Linked DNA regions of Homo sapiens: regions 1 and 2 are each linked to region 3. The links are contacts of gene promoters, found by promoter capture Hi-C in blood cells and fetal thymus (Javierre and others, 2016). All regions are on one chromosome and are shown on one strand. Each heading gives the region's core, a stretch centred on a gene start or on the middle of the fragment in contact. The rest is flanking DNA. Distances are from core to core; before and after follow the strand shown. Region 1 has its middle 23 kb from the start of LINC03129. Region 2 overlaps ZNF107 (zinc finger protein 107). Region 3 holds the start of MRPS17 (mitochondrial ribosomal protein S17).

What was found. The method cuts DNA at HindIII sites, captures the fragments that hold promoters and counts their contacts. A CHiCAGO score of 5 or more calls a contact.
Region 1: a fragment that was not itself captured here is called in contact with the fragment with the promoter of MRPS17 in region 3 in 1 of 17 cell types (erythroblasts); the score reaches 8.5 in erythroblasts.
Region 2: a contact is called between a fragment that was not itself captured here and the fragment with the promoter of MRPS17 in region 3, in 1 of 17 cell types (total CD8 T cells). The highest score is 5.1, in total CD8 T cells.

The regions. Positions count from the first base shown.
Region 1 is chr7:65,814,077-65,818,692 of GRCh38, forward strand. It overlaps the pseudogene RNU6-912P. Among named protein-coding and RNA genes, the nearest start is that of LINC03129, 23 kb to the right of the region's middle. The HindIII fragment of the contact is 1,980 bases long and covers 993-2,972 here.
Region 2 is chr7:64,666,671-64,671,368 of GRCh38, forward strand. All of the region lies in intron 1 of ZNF107 (zinc finger protein 107), which reads left to right. Among named protein-coding and RNA genes, the nearest start is that of ZNF107, 2.9 kb to the left of the region's middle. The HindIII fragment of the contact is 3,227 bases long and covers 2-3,228 here.
Region 3 is chr7:55,949,384-55,954,216 of GRCh38, forward strand. It overlaps MRPS17 (mitochondrial ribosomal protein S17), which reads left to right and starts at 2,494. Exons shown (of 3, transcript NM_015969.3): 1 at 2,494-2,547; 2 at 3,796-3,935. The coding sequence starts at 3,813. RefSeq lists an enhancer at 2,547-2,606. The HindIII fragment of the contact is 16,512 bases long and covers 1-4,833 here.

The DNA of each region.
Region 1 (4,616 bases), core at 733-3,232, 9.9 Mb after region 3:
TGTTCCCAATTCCAGCATTAATTGGATTAGATAGTTATCTTATGAAGAATTTTCATATACCACAGTCCTGACCATATGTTCAAGTCAACAGAAAAATTCTATTAAACAGTCAACCTTCTGTCTCACTCTGTTGCCCAGACTGGAGTGCAGTGGTGCAATTATGGCTCACTGCAGGCTCAAGCAATCCTCCTGACTCAGCCTCACAAGTAGCTGGGACTACAGGTGCTTGTCACCACACCTCACTAATTTTCTCATTTTATATATATATATATATCTCAATACCCCAGGACTGACTGGAAAACTTGAGTATGTGTGGATTTTGGTATACATAGAAATGGAGGAGCTGGAACCAATCCCCCCATATACCAAGGGACAAATTGTATCTGTTTTTACAGTTATACTGTAGGATACATTATGTTCCATGACAATGGTAATTTTTAGTGACAATTTTTAATTGAGTGGAATTACCATAAAAATAATAAAAGTAGCAGCTAATATTTACTGAGCTGTTATGAGATCCCTATAAATACCATAGATTTTTAAATTCCCCGTAACTCTTCCTTATTTCACTTAACCACTTTATCTTAAATTACTCATGCTTGCTTCGGTAGCACATATACTAAAGTTGGAACAATAGAGAGATTGGCATGGCCTCTGTGCAAGAATGACATGCAAATTTGTGAAGCATTCCATATTTTTTTAAAAAAGAGAAAAAAAATACCCCAAGATTTTCACTGTGTTTGTGCATATGACCTTTTGTTTAGGTTGAATTATATCCAAAGATGATATTTCCAGAAGTGAGATTACTGTGAGTCACAGGGCATGAGCATTCTTATTATGCTTGATGTAAATTGCCAAGCTTTCAGGCATGGTGGCTGTCGACCTATAATCCCAGCACTTTTGGAGGTTGAGGTGGGAGGACTGCTTGAGGCCAGGAGTTGGAGGAGGCAGTATAGTGAGTCACTGTCTGTATTATTTTTAAAAAATTGCCAAGCTTTACCCTGGAAGGTTTATTTACAATTTAAACATCACTAATAGTAAAAGAAAATGCCCATTTCACTGCACCTTTGCCAGCACAGGGTATTATAATTTAACAAGTTATTTTCTGTTTGATTATTTTTAATAAATAAAAGACCTCATATTACTTTATTTTCATTTGTCACTTTTTTTTTTTGAGACAGAGTCTTGCTCTCTCACCAGGCTGGAGTGCAGTGGCATGACCTTGGCTCACTGCAACCTCCGCCTCCCAGGTTCAAGCAATTCTCCTGCCTCAGCCTCCTGAGTAGCTGGGATTATAGGCACACGCCACCATGCCTGGCTAATTTTTGCATTTTTAGTAGAGACAGGGTTTCACCATGTTCGTCAGGCTGGTCTTGAACTCCTGAACTCATGATCCATCCACCTCGGCCTCCCAAAGTGCTGGGATTACAGGCGTGAGCCACCGTGCCCATCTTATTTGTCACATTTTAACATCTTTTCTTATGTTAGCTTGTTAGCTTTATTTCTTTATTGTCTTTTTTTTTTTGAGACTAAGTCTCGCTCTGTCTTCCAGGCTTGAGTGTAGTGGCACAAGCACAGTCTCAACTTACCACAGTCTTGACCTCCTGGGCTCAGGTGATCCTTCCACCTCAGTAGCTGGGACTGTAGGCACATGCCACCATGCCTGGCAATTTTTTTTTTTTTTTTTTTTTTTTTTAGTACAGATGATGTCTTGCTATGTTTTCCAGGCTGGTCTGGAACTCCTGCCCTCAAGCAATCCTCCCCGACCCCCTCCCAAAGTGCTGGTATTATAAGTGTGAGCCACCATGCCTGGGCTGTCTGTGACTTCTCCATTTATTTATAGAGTTAATGTGTCTTTTACTAATTTGACAATCTATTTATTTAATCTCTTTAAATTATAAAAATAGTAAATATTTTTAAGAAAGAAGTGAAAATTTTCCTTTGCTCTTTAGACCCATGATCTTATCTCAGGAAATAATTGCTATTGAGAAAAAGGGCCATATTTTTCAAGATACAGGCTAATTGGACTTCACTTCACATTTTCATATTTCATGGACATCTATGCCAATACCTATTGATCTTTCTTAATCCTTTTCATGGTTGCATAATATTTTATTATATGGATGTATCACAGTTTACCAGTCAGCCGCTATAGGCATTTAGGCTCCTTCTACTATTTGCTTTGAGCTCTTTATATAATTAAAAATTAACCCCCTCAGCCAGATGTGGCAGCTCACACCTGTAATCCCAGCACTTTGGAAGGCTGAGGTGGGAGAACTGCTTGAGGGTAGGAGATTACCATCAGCCTGGTCAACATAACAACACTTTGTCTCTACTAAAAATTAAAAAAAAAAATGAGCTGGACATTGTGGTGGACACCTGTAGTCCCAGCTCCTACGGAGGCTGAGACTGGAGGATCACTTGAGCCTAGGAGGTTGAGGCTGCAGTAAGCTATGATCATACCACTGCACTCCAGCTTTGGTAACAGAGTAAGACTGTGTTTCTTAAATAAAATAAAAATCAGGTGGGAAGATTTCTTGAGCCCAGGAGGTTGAGGCTGCAGTGAGCTGTGATCGCACTACTGCAGTACAGCCTTGGCAATAGAGCAAGACCCTTTCTCAAAAAATAAAATAAAATAAAAATTACCCTTTATCATATTTCCCAGTGACACCTTCCCTCCTACATTTTTCCTAGAAGCCCTTGAATTTTGTTTGCTTTTCACATACCATTTAAAACTTTTAAGTACTGATGTCTGTCTGTGTCATCCCTCTTTTTTTTTTTCTTTTTTTTTAAAGAATGTCTTTATGTCACTTTCAGCTGAATCTACCATGAAAGACTTCAGAGTCCAGGAAGAGAGACTGACTGGGCAACATCTTATTCAGGTACAAAAAGACTTGAACTATAACACAAAAATGGTCAAATAACAGTACATGCATGAAGTGCAATGGGAAGCTCTTCTGGAGGGTGAGAGAAGCTTCCAGTTAAGATAACATTGAAACCGGGTCCTGAAAGATGAGTAAGAGTTGCATGAGAGTGGGGAGGGAAGGGGGAGGTGGAGGGGTGGGGAATGGGCTGGGATGGGTTGGAGTGAGCTCCCCAGGCAGGGAAACCAGCACTGTAAAGACCTGGACAATGAAAATGGCACATTTTATTCAGGGAATGGTGAATTAAGTGTGGCAGGAATGCATTGGAGAGACAGTAATTTGCTTGTATGGAATTTTGCCCAAGAGACCTCATTACAGTTTCTAATCTGTTGACATTATTATGCATCCCTCTCCTTGTCAAATAGTTTAGAATAGGTATAATGATCACAATAACACCAATCATAGTATTTCATTAGTTCTCACAAAATCACAGATAGGTGCCACAGTTATCTCCATTTTACACACAAAATGGTGAAGACTTGTGGATAATAAGTGATTTGCCCAAGCTCACCTGGATATTAAGACTGAGTCAAATGTTGGGTCTTGTTTGACTTTAATGCTTGCTTTGTTCATGAGCACCATGCATTGCCTCTCCTATGCAGTTAAGCAGGTAGACAGGTGAGAGAAGAACCCATGTTTCTCTCTACTCACACACTTCTGACAAAATGTGAGTGCAGAGTTTCTACACCAATTCTCCAACTCTCTGGATACCAACTGCGTATCCCACAGTTCCATCCTGACACTACCTGGAGTTAGTGCAGACCCTACAGATTAGGGGCTCAGTCCCACGAGACCACCCTCACTTTAGATGCTAGTTGCAAGTCCTAGGTTGTCACCTGTATTTTGACCAACCAGTTAGAAATCAGGGGTTCCCATGATCCTCTTATTGGGTTTAATTATTTGCTAGAACAACTCACAGAACTTAGAAAAACAGGGTTTTTTTCCTTTTTTTTTAAGAGACAGGGTCTCGTTCTGTTGCCCAGGCTGGAGTGCACTGGTGCAATCATAGCTCATTGAAGCCTCAACCTCCAGGGCTCAAGTGATTTTCCTGCTTCAGCCTCTCAAGTAGCTGGAATTACAAGTTTCCCACCACCACATCTGGCTAATTTTTTTAATTTTTTGTATAGATGGGGTCTTGTTACATTGCCCAGTCTGGTCTCAAATTCCTGGGCTCAAGTGATTCCCCCACCTCTGCCTCCAAAAGTGCTGGGATTACAGGCATGAGCCACCACATCTGGCCAGTTTATTTTCTATTACTGGCTCAGTGTAAAGGCTGCATCTCAGGAACAGCCAATGAAAGAGATGTATTGCAGGGTAAGTGGGGAGGGGCACAGAGCTTCCATGCCCTCTGTTGGGCATGCTACCCTCCCAGCACCTCCTTGTGTTCAGCAACACAGAAGCTCTCCAAACCCTGTTGTTTAGGATTTTTATGGAGGCATGATTGATAAAATCATTGGCCATTGGTGGTTAAGTCAATCTCCAGCCCCTTTTGCCTCCTGGAGTTCAGCCAGTAAGGCTGAAAGTTCCAAGCCTCAAAAAATGTGGTTGGGGTTGGGCACGGTGGCTCACGCCTGTAATCCCAACACTTTGGGAGGCCGAGGTGGGCAGATCACCTGATGTCAGGAGTTCAAGACCAGCCTTACCAACATGATGAAACCCCGTCTCTACTAAAAATACAAAAATTAGCTGGTC
Region 2 (4,698 bases), core at 365-2,864, 8.7 Mb after region 3:
AAGCTTTAGTCTGTGGGGTTCCTAGTCCATCTTTTTTCTCTTAAAAATCTATGGAAGTCACCACAAAAATGTTAAAGAATTTAATCAAAGAGTAATTGAAGAATTATAGAGCACCCAGCTGTGGTTTGTAGTTTATTTTCCATGGGAGGGGCTTGAAGAAAAGACTTTTAGAAGGTGCATGATAAAGGAAAGCAAACTCAATAATTGGTTAGGTAGAGTTACGTAGTTTCTTAGTTTTAGATGAAGGTGGAAATTTTCTGGTCACGTAATCAGAGCTTAATTGGCAGTTCATGGTTGATTAAGTCTAAATTTTGTTTTCCCCAATGTAGTAATTTACAAAAAAAAAGCATTTGAGTTAGATTTTTTAAAAAGTAAAAACCCTGGGACTAGAGCCACCTCAGTCTAATTGCCTGCCATTTAGTTATTTTCACACTCCACAGGGGACAGATTTTCCCCTGCAACTTTCACGTGTCTCAAGCAGGGTCTCAAGACTACTCCCTATTCCCCATTCTTTTAGCCTAACTGACTTTCAGTAAAATGCTAAATTTCCAGTTTCCTTTGACATTCCCAAATCCCAGCTTCCCCTCCCTAATTCACATTATCAACTATTTGTCCTTTAGTGTACATTTTAGATACTGTATTTTAATTAATCATTGTTGACAAATTATTGGGTGGCACTTTAAACAAATTGTTTGCTGTTTGAAAATATTTCCAATGAGAAGAAAACAAAAAATAATCCCCTGACACTGTATTGTAAAAAAAAGTCTGTGCCTATTTTCCTTTTATCTTCCCTAGGCGCAGAGATCTTATCAGAATGTTTTTGGGTCAAGGTTTCCCTTTGGAAACTTTACAGGGTGATGTGTCCTCAGCCACCTTTCGGTTTTCTCCTGGTCCTGGGTTTCAGTACTGTCTGGGGATAAATCAAGATATCAACTGTGGCTGTGTATGCTAGAATCTCTAGTAAATTTCAGCTCCTGGCCTGGAATGGAACTCTGGGTATCTGGGAATGGGAGACAGAGGACAATCTGAGGTTGGAGTGTAGCCTCTCAAGGGAGCAGGTGGATGCCCTGGGGCTGAGAGGAATCTCCTGGTATACCCTTCCTTTGGAAAGCTAACCCTTTGAGGCATTAAGATTGTGTTCACTCAACCCGACTTCCATTTCTCAGAGGTACATTGCTGGTCAGCCAATCAGATGCTGGTATTGAGAGGAAAACTCAGAAATAATTTCTGCCCCCTGGATTCTCTAAGATTTGTGAAAGAAAAAATAGTATTCCAGAAGACAAAAAAAAAAAAAAATCAAACTTGACCCCAGTGAGATGGTACAAGAACTTGCAAAATGAAATGCACTTGGAGTAGTCACTGAGGCATAGGGCAGTGTCTACAGAGAGGGTGGTCATTGGGCACTTAAATGAGCAGGATGGGGTAGGAGAATCTAGTGTTTGGGTGGCCTGACTTGACACATGAGTCAGACACATCTGTTTTCTTTTTTTTTATTATTATTATACTTTAAGTTTTAGGGTACATGTGCATAACGTGCAGGTTTGTTACATATGTACACATGTGCCCTGTTGGTGTGCTGCACCCAGTAACTCGTCATTTAGCATTAGGTATATCTCCTAATGCTATCCCTCCCCCCTCCCCCCACCCCACAGCAGGCCCCAGTGTGTGATGTTCCCCTTCCTGTGTCCATGTGTTCTCATTGTTCAATTCCCACCTATAAGTGAGAACATGCGGTGTTTGGTTTTTTGTCCTTGCTGAGAACGATGGTTTCCAGCTTTATCCATGTCCCTGCAAAGGCCATGAACTCATCAGACACATCTGTTTTCTAATCAGCCCCGCCACTCCCTGGGTTTGTCACCTTGAAAAGATTTGTTCACTTATTTTGATTTCAGTTTTATAACTGTAACTTGCATTTTATTAGTATGATTTAAAAGTTAAGAAAATATTTACAGAGCATAAAAGAGGTGAGTTTCAGAGAAAAATAATATCTAATCATATATTCCATTTATTAAGAATTCTCATTTACCTTTTTCTTTCCCAGACTTAGTTTAGGAATTTACTCAGGTGTGTTTTTTATGGCTGGGTGATGTCCAACGGTATTCCAAGGCTTAGTTTTTAGAGTGCTAGCAGGGAAACAAAAAGGAAAAAAACCTCTCTTCCATTTTGACTGTAGAAAATGAATACATTTTTACAAGAAAATGTGGTAGATAATTGATGAGTTACATAGATTTATGAAAGCATCAGTTCCTCTTTTTGCAGGGTACTTTTGTTACAGTAAATACCTCTGTTCTATATCCTATCATCTTGATTTGTGAGGATAACGCTAATTTTTTTTTTTTTTTTTTTTTTTTTTTTTTTTTTTTGAGATGGAGTCTCGCTCTGTTGCTCAGGCTGAAGGGCAGTGGTGCGATCTCGGCTCACTGAAACCTCCGCCTTCCGGGCTCAAGCAATTCTCCTGCCTCAACCTCGCAAGTAGCTGGGATTACAGGCATGCACCACCATGCCCAGGTAATTTTTGTAGTTTTATTAGACACGGGGTTTCACCATGTTGGGCAGGCTGGCCTTGAACTCCTGACCTCAAGTGATCTGCCTGCCTTGGTCTCCCAAGGGATTACAGGCATGAGCCACTGCACCCAGCTGGTTAATGCTAAATTTTATGAGATGAAAGTTGGTACCTCCTAGAAGTATGACTTCTTGATTACTAATCCCATATGACTAATTGATTACTACCTAATTTTTAATGAAAATAATAGAATAATACATTTATCGTCTGAAAGAAATAAATACTTTGCATTTCTTACTGAGGTATGAAATGTAAGCACCTTAAAATTTCCTTCCCTTGGTTGGGTGCAGTGGCTCACGCCTGTAATCCCAGCACTTTGGGAGGCTGAGGCAGGCGGATCACCTGAGGTCAAGAGTTCAAGACCAGCCTGGCCAACATGGTGAAGCCCCGTCTCTACTGAAAAATTAGCCAGGTGTGGGTGACAGGCACCTGTAGTCTTAGCTACTCGGTAGGCTGAGGCAGGAGAATCACTTGAATCTGGGAGGCAGAGGTTGCAGTGAGCCAAGAGTGTACCACTGCACTCCAGGCTGGGCAACAGAGCGAGACTCTGTCTCAAAAAAAAAGAAAAAATAATTTCCTTCCCATATATAAATACTGTGCATAATTTTGCTGAATTTTTAAAGCAGTTTCAAAACCCAAGTGAATAACCTTGACATGGAAATTAAAGCTTATGCCCAGTGATTCCAAGCTAAGGCTAATATTGAGCCTGCAAAGGGAAGGGAGGTTATTAAAGGCCCAGTTAGTTCTTTCTTGGAAGCCTCCCCTGCTCACCCCAGCCATGGAAGAAGCCTTTATTCTGAGAGAAGCTACAGAGCCCTGGACGTCGGGGGACCCACAGGCAGATGCAGTTAACGTTAAGATGGAAGGGGAATGAGAGAGTCTTACTAAAGATGAAGTTGTTATCGTTTTGAGGCAGTATTTTACTTTTTGTAAAAACAGAATAAGGTTTCTGTAAAAAAAATTCTGAATTTTAAAGGAGTATTGCAACAGAAGGAAATACCAACTAAAAGATCTTTAAGAATTGCAAAGTTTAGGCAGACAAAGACTTTTTTTTTTAGGGAGGAGCAAAGAAGGTTAGAAAGAAGGTCACAGGGGAATGGCAAATGGAGGGTGAAAAAAATCAAATACTAGATTAGAACACTTTTATCCTGAAGTCATCAAGTCTTTAGGAGGGACAAAAAATGGGGTTGTATGTTGGCTCAGACTGAGGGTACCTCAAAGTTCAGGAGCCTGTGGAAAGGAGATAAACTTAAGTGAAGTTTGATTAAGAAGAACTTTCTTTTGACCACTGAAGAAAAATTCAGCTAATTTTTTAATATGAAAAAGAAAATATGCAGAGTGAGTGTTTGGTTATTAAACAGTTAAGAAAAAGAGTACCATCTAAGTCATAATGGGAAGGGTGTTTCTTTTCATAAACTGTTCCTGGAGAACACAAAGGATGGGGACTTTTATTAATCGCAGCTATTTACCAGGATTATCTATGTGCTTCATCTTTCCCCATCTCTTTTCTTTGTCCTATACATTTTTTCCATTTGAATTTTCCTGGGTTGTATCTTGTATAGTAAACTGGTCGACATAACCACAGTGTTTTGCAGAGTTCTGTGAGTAGCTTTATCAAATTATTGAACTTGAGGGAGTTATGGGAATTCTAAATTTTCAAACAGTAGTTTAGAAGCACTGATAGGCCCGTATGGTTTTTGACTGGCATCTGCAGTGAGGACAGTGTTGTGGGACTGAGCCCTGAATCAGGGTCTGCTGACTCTGGGGTCAGAATTCAAATGTTAAACAATGTGTTAGTTTTGGAGAATTGCTTGGTGTTAAGCAAACTTTACAGATTTGGTGCCAAAAGAAAGATATCACAGAGGCCTGGCCTGGAGTGGAACTCTGGGTGTCTGGGAATGCGACGCTCTACCCTCCTGTACACAGACTGTCACACTGCCCATTGTCCTGTGATTCCAGGTCTCCTTCCATGGTGAGAGAGGACTGAAAACTTAGAGGAAAGGAGGTCTGATTATAGACCCCCTTTTCTCGCAGCTGCCATCCCAGAATTTCCACCCACTCACAAACATACCCATTATACATTGATGTGTCCACACCCCTCCCAGGACTAGGCACCGCCCTTAGGAATTTCACTA
Region 3 (4,833 bases), core at 1,244-3,743:
TACCTATGGGAAACAAGAACAAGATCAAAAAGATTGGGAATGGAATGAAATTTCTCTGCTTGTATCTTTTTAAAGTTTTAGTCCTTCCTTCTCCCCTCCCCTCCCCTCCCCTTCCCTTCCCCCCTCCCTTCCCGTCCCTTTTTTTTTTTTTTTTTTTTTTTTTTTTTGAGACAGAGTCTCACTCCCTCACCCAGGCTGGAGTGCACTGGCACCATCTCCGCTCACTGCAACCTCCACCTTCCAGGTTCAAGCGATTCTCCTGCCTTAGCCTCCTGAGTAGGTGGGATTACAGGCGTGTGTCACTATGCCCAGCTAATTTTTGTATTTTTAGTAGGGATGGAGTTTCACCATGTTGCCACAGGCTGATCTCGAACTCCTGGCCTCAGGTGATCCGCATGCCTCGGCCTCCCAAAGGGCTGGGATTATAGGCGTGAGCCACTGCGCCCAGCCTTAAAGTTTTAATTTTTGAACCATTTTAATGATTTACACATTCAAAAAATAAGATTAAAAGGATATGGTTTTTCCTATCCTCGAATACAAAATTGTATACAAACATATAAAAATGAAGGCCAGGCACGGTGGCTCACGCCTGTAATCCCAACACTTTGGGAGGCCGAGGCGGGCGGATCATTAGGTCACAAGATGGAGACCATCCTGGCTAACGCGGTGAAACTCCATCTCTACTAAAAATACAAGAAAAATTAGCCGGGCGTGGTGGCGGGTGCCTGTAGTCCCAGCCACCCGGGATGCTGAGGCAGGAGAATGGCGTAAACCCAGGAGGCAGAGCTTGCAGTGAGCCGAGATTGTGAGCGAGACTCCGTCTGAAAAAAAAAAAAAAATCTAATTGTATAGAATATTGTTACAACCACACAGAAGAAAAAAAAAGAATCCCAAGAAATGTTGAACACAGTGCTGTCATTGTACACTCTAAGGACAAAAAGAACCACAAAAAATAATCTCACGCATCACTTAGAAAGTTTGTTTTTAGTCGGGATATTGTTAGTACAACTCCAAAAGCATATAGTGTATACTATAGGATTTAGCATTAATCATTGATGTTGTCGGGGTAGGGACCAGAGTTCTAACTGTGGAAGAAAGGAGATAAAAATACGGAACTGGTGAAGCAAAAGAAGAAACCCACTGGTGGCTCATGCCTGTAATCCCAGCACTTTGGGAAGCCGAGACGGGCGGATCACGAGGTCAGGAGATCGAGACCATCCTGGCTTACACGGTGAAACCCCGTCTCCACTAAAAAAAATACAAAAAATTAGCCGGCCTGGTGGCAGGCGCCTGTAGTCCCAGCTACTCGGAAGGCTGAGGCAGGAGAATGGCGTGAACCCGGGAGGCGGAGCTTGCAGTGAGCCGAGATCGCGCCAGTGCACTCCAGCCTGGGCGACAGAGACAGCCTCCGTCCCAAAAAAGAAAGAAACCCACTGCTGTTTAAAGGTAGGTGTGTGTGTGCGTGTGTGTATGTTTCAATGTATCGATAGCTACATCTGCTGAAATAGCCTACAGGCAGGAAAATCCCAGTAGCAAGTTGCTCACCTAGCACTCAGAGCTTTGTTGCTAAGTACCACTCCCCACTGATATTTTTCGTTTGAAAAACTTCTGATACAATAACTGGTCAGGGAAAGTATAGGTAAATCTGGACCAGCCAGGCACAGTGGCTCATGCCTGTAATCCCAGAACTTTGGGAGTCCGAAATAGGTGGATCACTTGAGGCCAAGAGTTCAAGAACAGCCTGGCCAACATGGTGAAATCCCGTCTCTACTAAAAATAAAAAAAATTAGCTGGACGTGGTGCCAGATGCCTGTAGTCCCAGCTACTCAGGAGGCTGAGGCAGGAGAATCCCTTAAACCCAGGAGGCAGAGGTTGCAGTGAGTCAAGATCATGCCACTGCACTCCAGCCTGGGCAACAAGAGTGAGACCCTGTCTCAAAAAAAAAAAAAAAAAAAACACTTTTAGGCCAGGCACGGTGGCTCACGCCTGTAATTCCAACACTTTGAAAGGCCAAAGTGGTTGGATCACTTAAGGCCAGGAGTTCGAGACCAGCCTGGCCAACATGTGAAACCCTGTCTCTACTAAAAATACAAAAATTAGCTGGGCATGGTGGTGCACGCCTGTAATCCCAGCTACTTGGGAGGTTGAGGCAGAAGAATCGCTTGAACCCGGGAGGCAGAGGTTGCAGTGAGCAGAGATCGCGCCACTGCACACCAGCCTGGGCGACAGAGCGAGACTCCGTCTCAAAAAAAAAAAAAAAAAAAAGAAACAAAACAAAAGAATGAAAGAAAAGTCCGAAACCTCCTGCGCCACTGTCCACTAGCTGCGCGCGTTAGGAAACCAGAGGTCAGCGCCCCCGACCCCGCCACCGCCGCGGGTCCCTTTAAGGGAGAGTGGGCGGGGTCCTGCCTTTAACTCCGCCCACGGCTAAGGAGATGCACGGCCTACGAGAGGGGTAGTGTGGGACTGAGCCAATGCGTACGGCGTGACGCCATCCCGCTGCGACCGGCGCTCCCCGGGGCAGGTGGCTGCATAGTCTTGGCGGAGGTGAGTCTCGTGGTGGAGGTGAGGGCAGGCTCCGGGGTATTGCTGCCGGGGGAGGATTTGCTGGGGACCCAAGGCACCCTCGCGTGAGAGCCCTGAGAGCGAATCGCTTCGTCTGACCTCGGGGTTGTCTGGGGCGAGGGCACGAATCACCCCAACCTTTCCGAAGCCTGGTGGAATGGCTTGTGAACTGATCTCAAAAGCAGCCCAAGTCATCCGTCGCTGGGCCGGGGAGGGGGACACCGCGGCGGCCCCGCCGAGTGCTACCTGGGCACTGAGCCTGTGGGGAGAGGCGACCCAGCGGGGTGGAGAGAGATAAGGGACCAGTAACGTCCAGCGTTTGTCCGTGGTATTGAGCGTTCTGTGGGTCAAATTCTCAAAGCACTCCTGCGAAATAGGCCTGCCCATTTTGCAGAAGGGGAACGTGAGGCTTGGCGAAGTTAAAGTTACCGCTTTGTAAGCGCTGTAAAGATGAGAGGTTGGGTAGTGGGGAACGTGTAAGCATCTCTGAAATGGTGATTCAAGCCGGGCGCGGTGGCTCACGCCTCTTAATCCCAGCACTTTGGGAGGCTTGAGGCGGGCGGATCACCTGAGGTCAGGAGTTCGAGACCAGTCTGGCCAACATGGTGAAACTCTGTCTTTACTAAAAATACAAAAATTAGCTCGGCGTGGTGGTGCGGGCCTGTAGTCCCGGCTACTCGGGAGGCTGAGGGAGAAGAATCGCTTGAACCCGGGAGGCGGAGGTTGCAGTGAGCCGAGATCGCGCCACTTCACTCCAGACTGGGCGAAAGAACTAAACTTCATCTAAAGAAAAATACATATGGCCGGGCGCGGTGGCTCACGCCTGTAATCCTAGCACTCTGGGAGGCCGAGGCGGGCGGATCACGAGGTCAGGAGATCAAGACCATCCTGGCTAACACGGTGAAACTCCATCTCTACTAAAAATACAAAAAAATTAGCCGGGCGTTGTGGCGGGCGCCTGTAGTCCCAGCTGCTCGGGAGGCTGAGGCAGGAGAATGGCGTGAACCCAGGAGGCGGCGTTTGCAGTGAGCCAAGATCGCACCACCGCACTCCAGCCTGGGCGACAGAGAGAGACTACATCTAAAAAAAAACAAAACAAAACTGTTTCTGGGTGGAGGGGGGAACGAAAAAGAAAAAAACTGTTTCTGGACTAACCTGGACAGTTCTTGTGACAAAATTCATGTGGCATCATAACCACCAGAATATGAGACTTTGGAATTTGCTTTTCAGGTGACCAAAGCCACGTAATGTCCGTAGTTCGCTCATCCGTCCATGCCAGATGGATTGTGGGGAAGGTGATTGGGACAAAAATGCAAAAGACTGCTAAAGTGAGAGTGACCAGGCTTGTTCTGGATCCCTATTTATTAAAGGTGAGAAACATTCTTGTTTCCGGGTGGCTTTGGTAAATCACCACCATGTCCTGGGTCCTAAGCAAAAAAACATTTATCTCTCAGTAAAGATGTCTTGTCTCTCATCTGCTTTGAGCCAGGCATTTTGCTGGTCTGTAGGTATAACACGGTTTACACATTCCAAGAAAACAGTTAATGTCAATCCACTCTAACTGCTGTAGTCATTCTGTATGCAAAGTACTGGCCGGATGAGGTGGCTCACACCTGTAATCCCAGCACTTTGGGAGGCCGATGCGGTTGGATCACCTGAGATCAGGAGTTCGAGACCAGTCTGGCCAACGTGGTGAAACCCCGTCTCTACTAAAAATACAAAAATTAGCTGGGCATAGTGGTGCGCACCTGTAATCCTAGCTACTCTGGAGGCTGAGGCAGGAGAATCTCTTGAAGCCGGGAGGCGGAGGTTGCAATGAGCCACAATTGTACCATTGCACTCCATCCTGGACAAGAGCAAAACTCTGCCTACCATGCACAATTCACAATAGGGTTTGTGCTCCTATAGGAATCTAATGCCGCTGCTGATCTGACAGGAGGTGGAGCGCAGGCGGTAATACTCATGCTGGCTCAACGCCACTCACCTCCTGCTGTGCGGCCCTGTTCCTAACAGGCCACTGAATGGTATCAGTCTGCTGCCCTGGGGGTTGGGGATCCCTGCTTGAACCCAAAGACAGGCTTGGAAACACGGGTAGGGATGAAGACTGGAGGTAAGGGAATGGGCAAAGAGGCTGCTGCAAAAGTCTAGGATGGAAATAAGGACCTGAACTAAAGTTGATGTAGTGGGGATGGAGTGGAAAAAATATTTCAGGAAGGACAGAGTCATTGATTTGTTTGCTGTGCCCAGGGGACGGATAGGTGCCAAGGA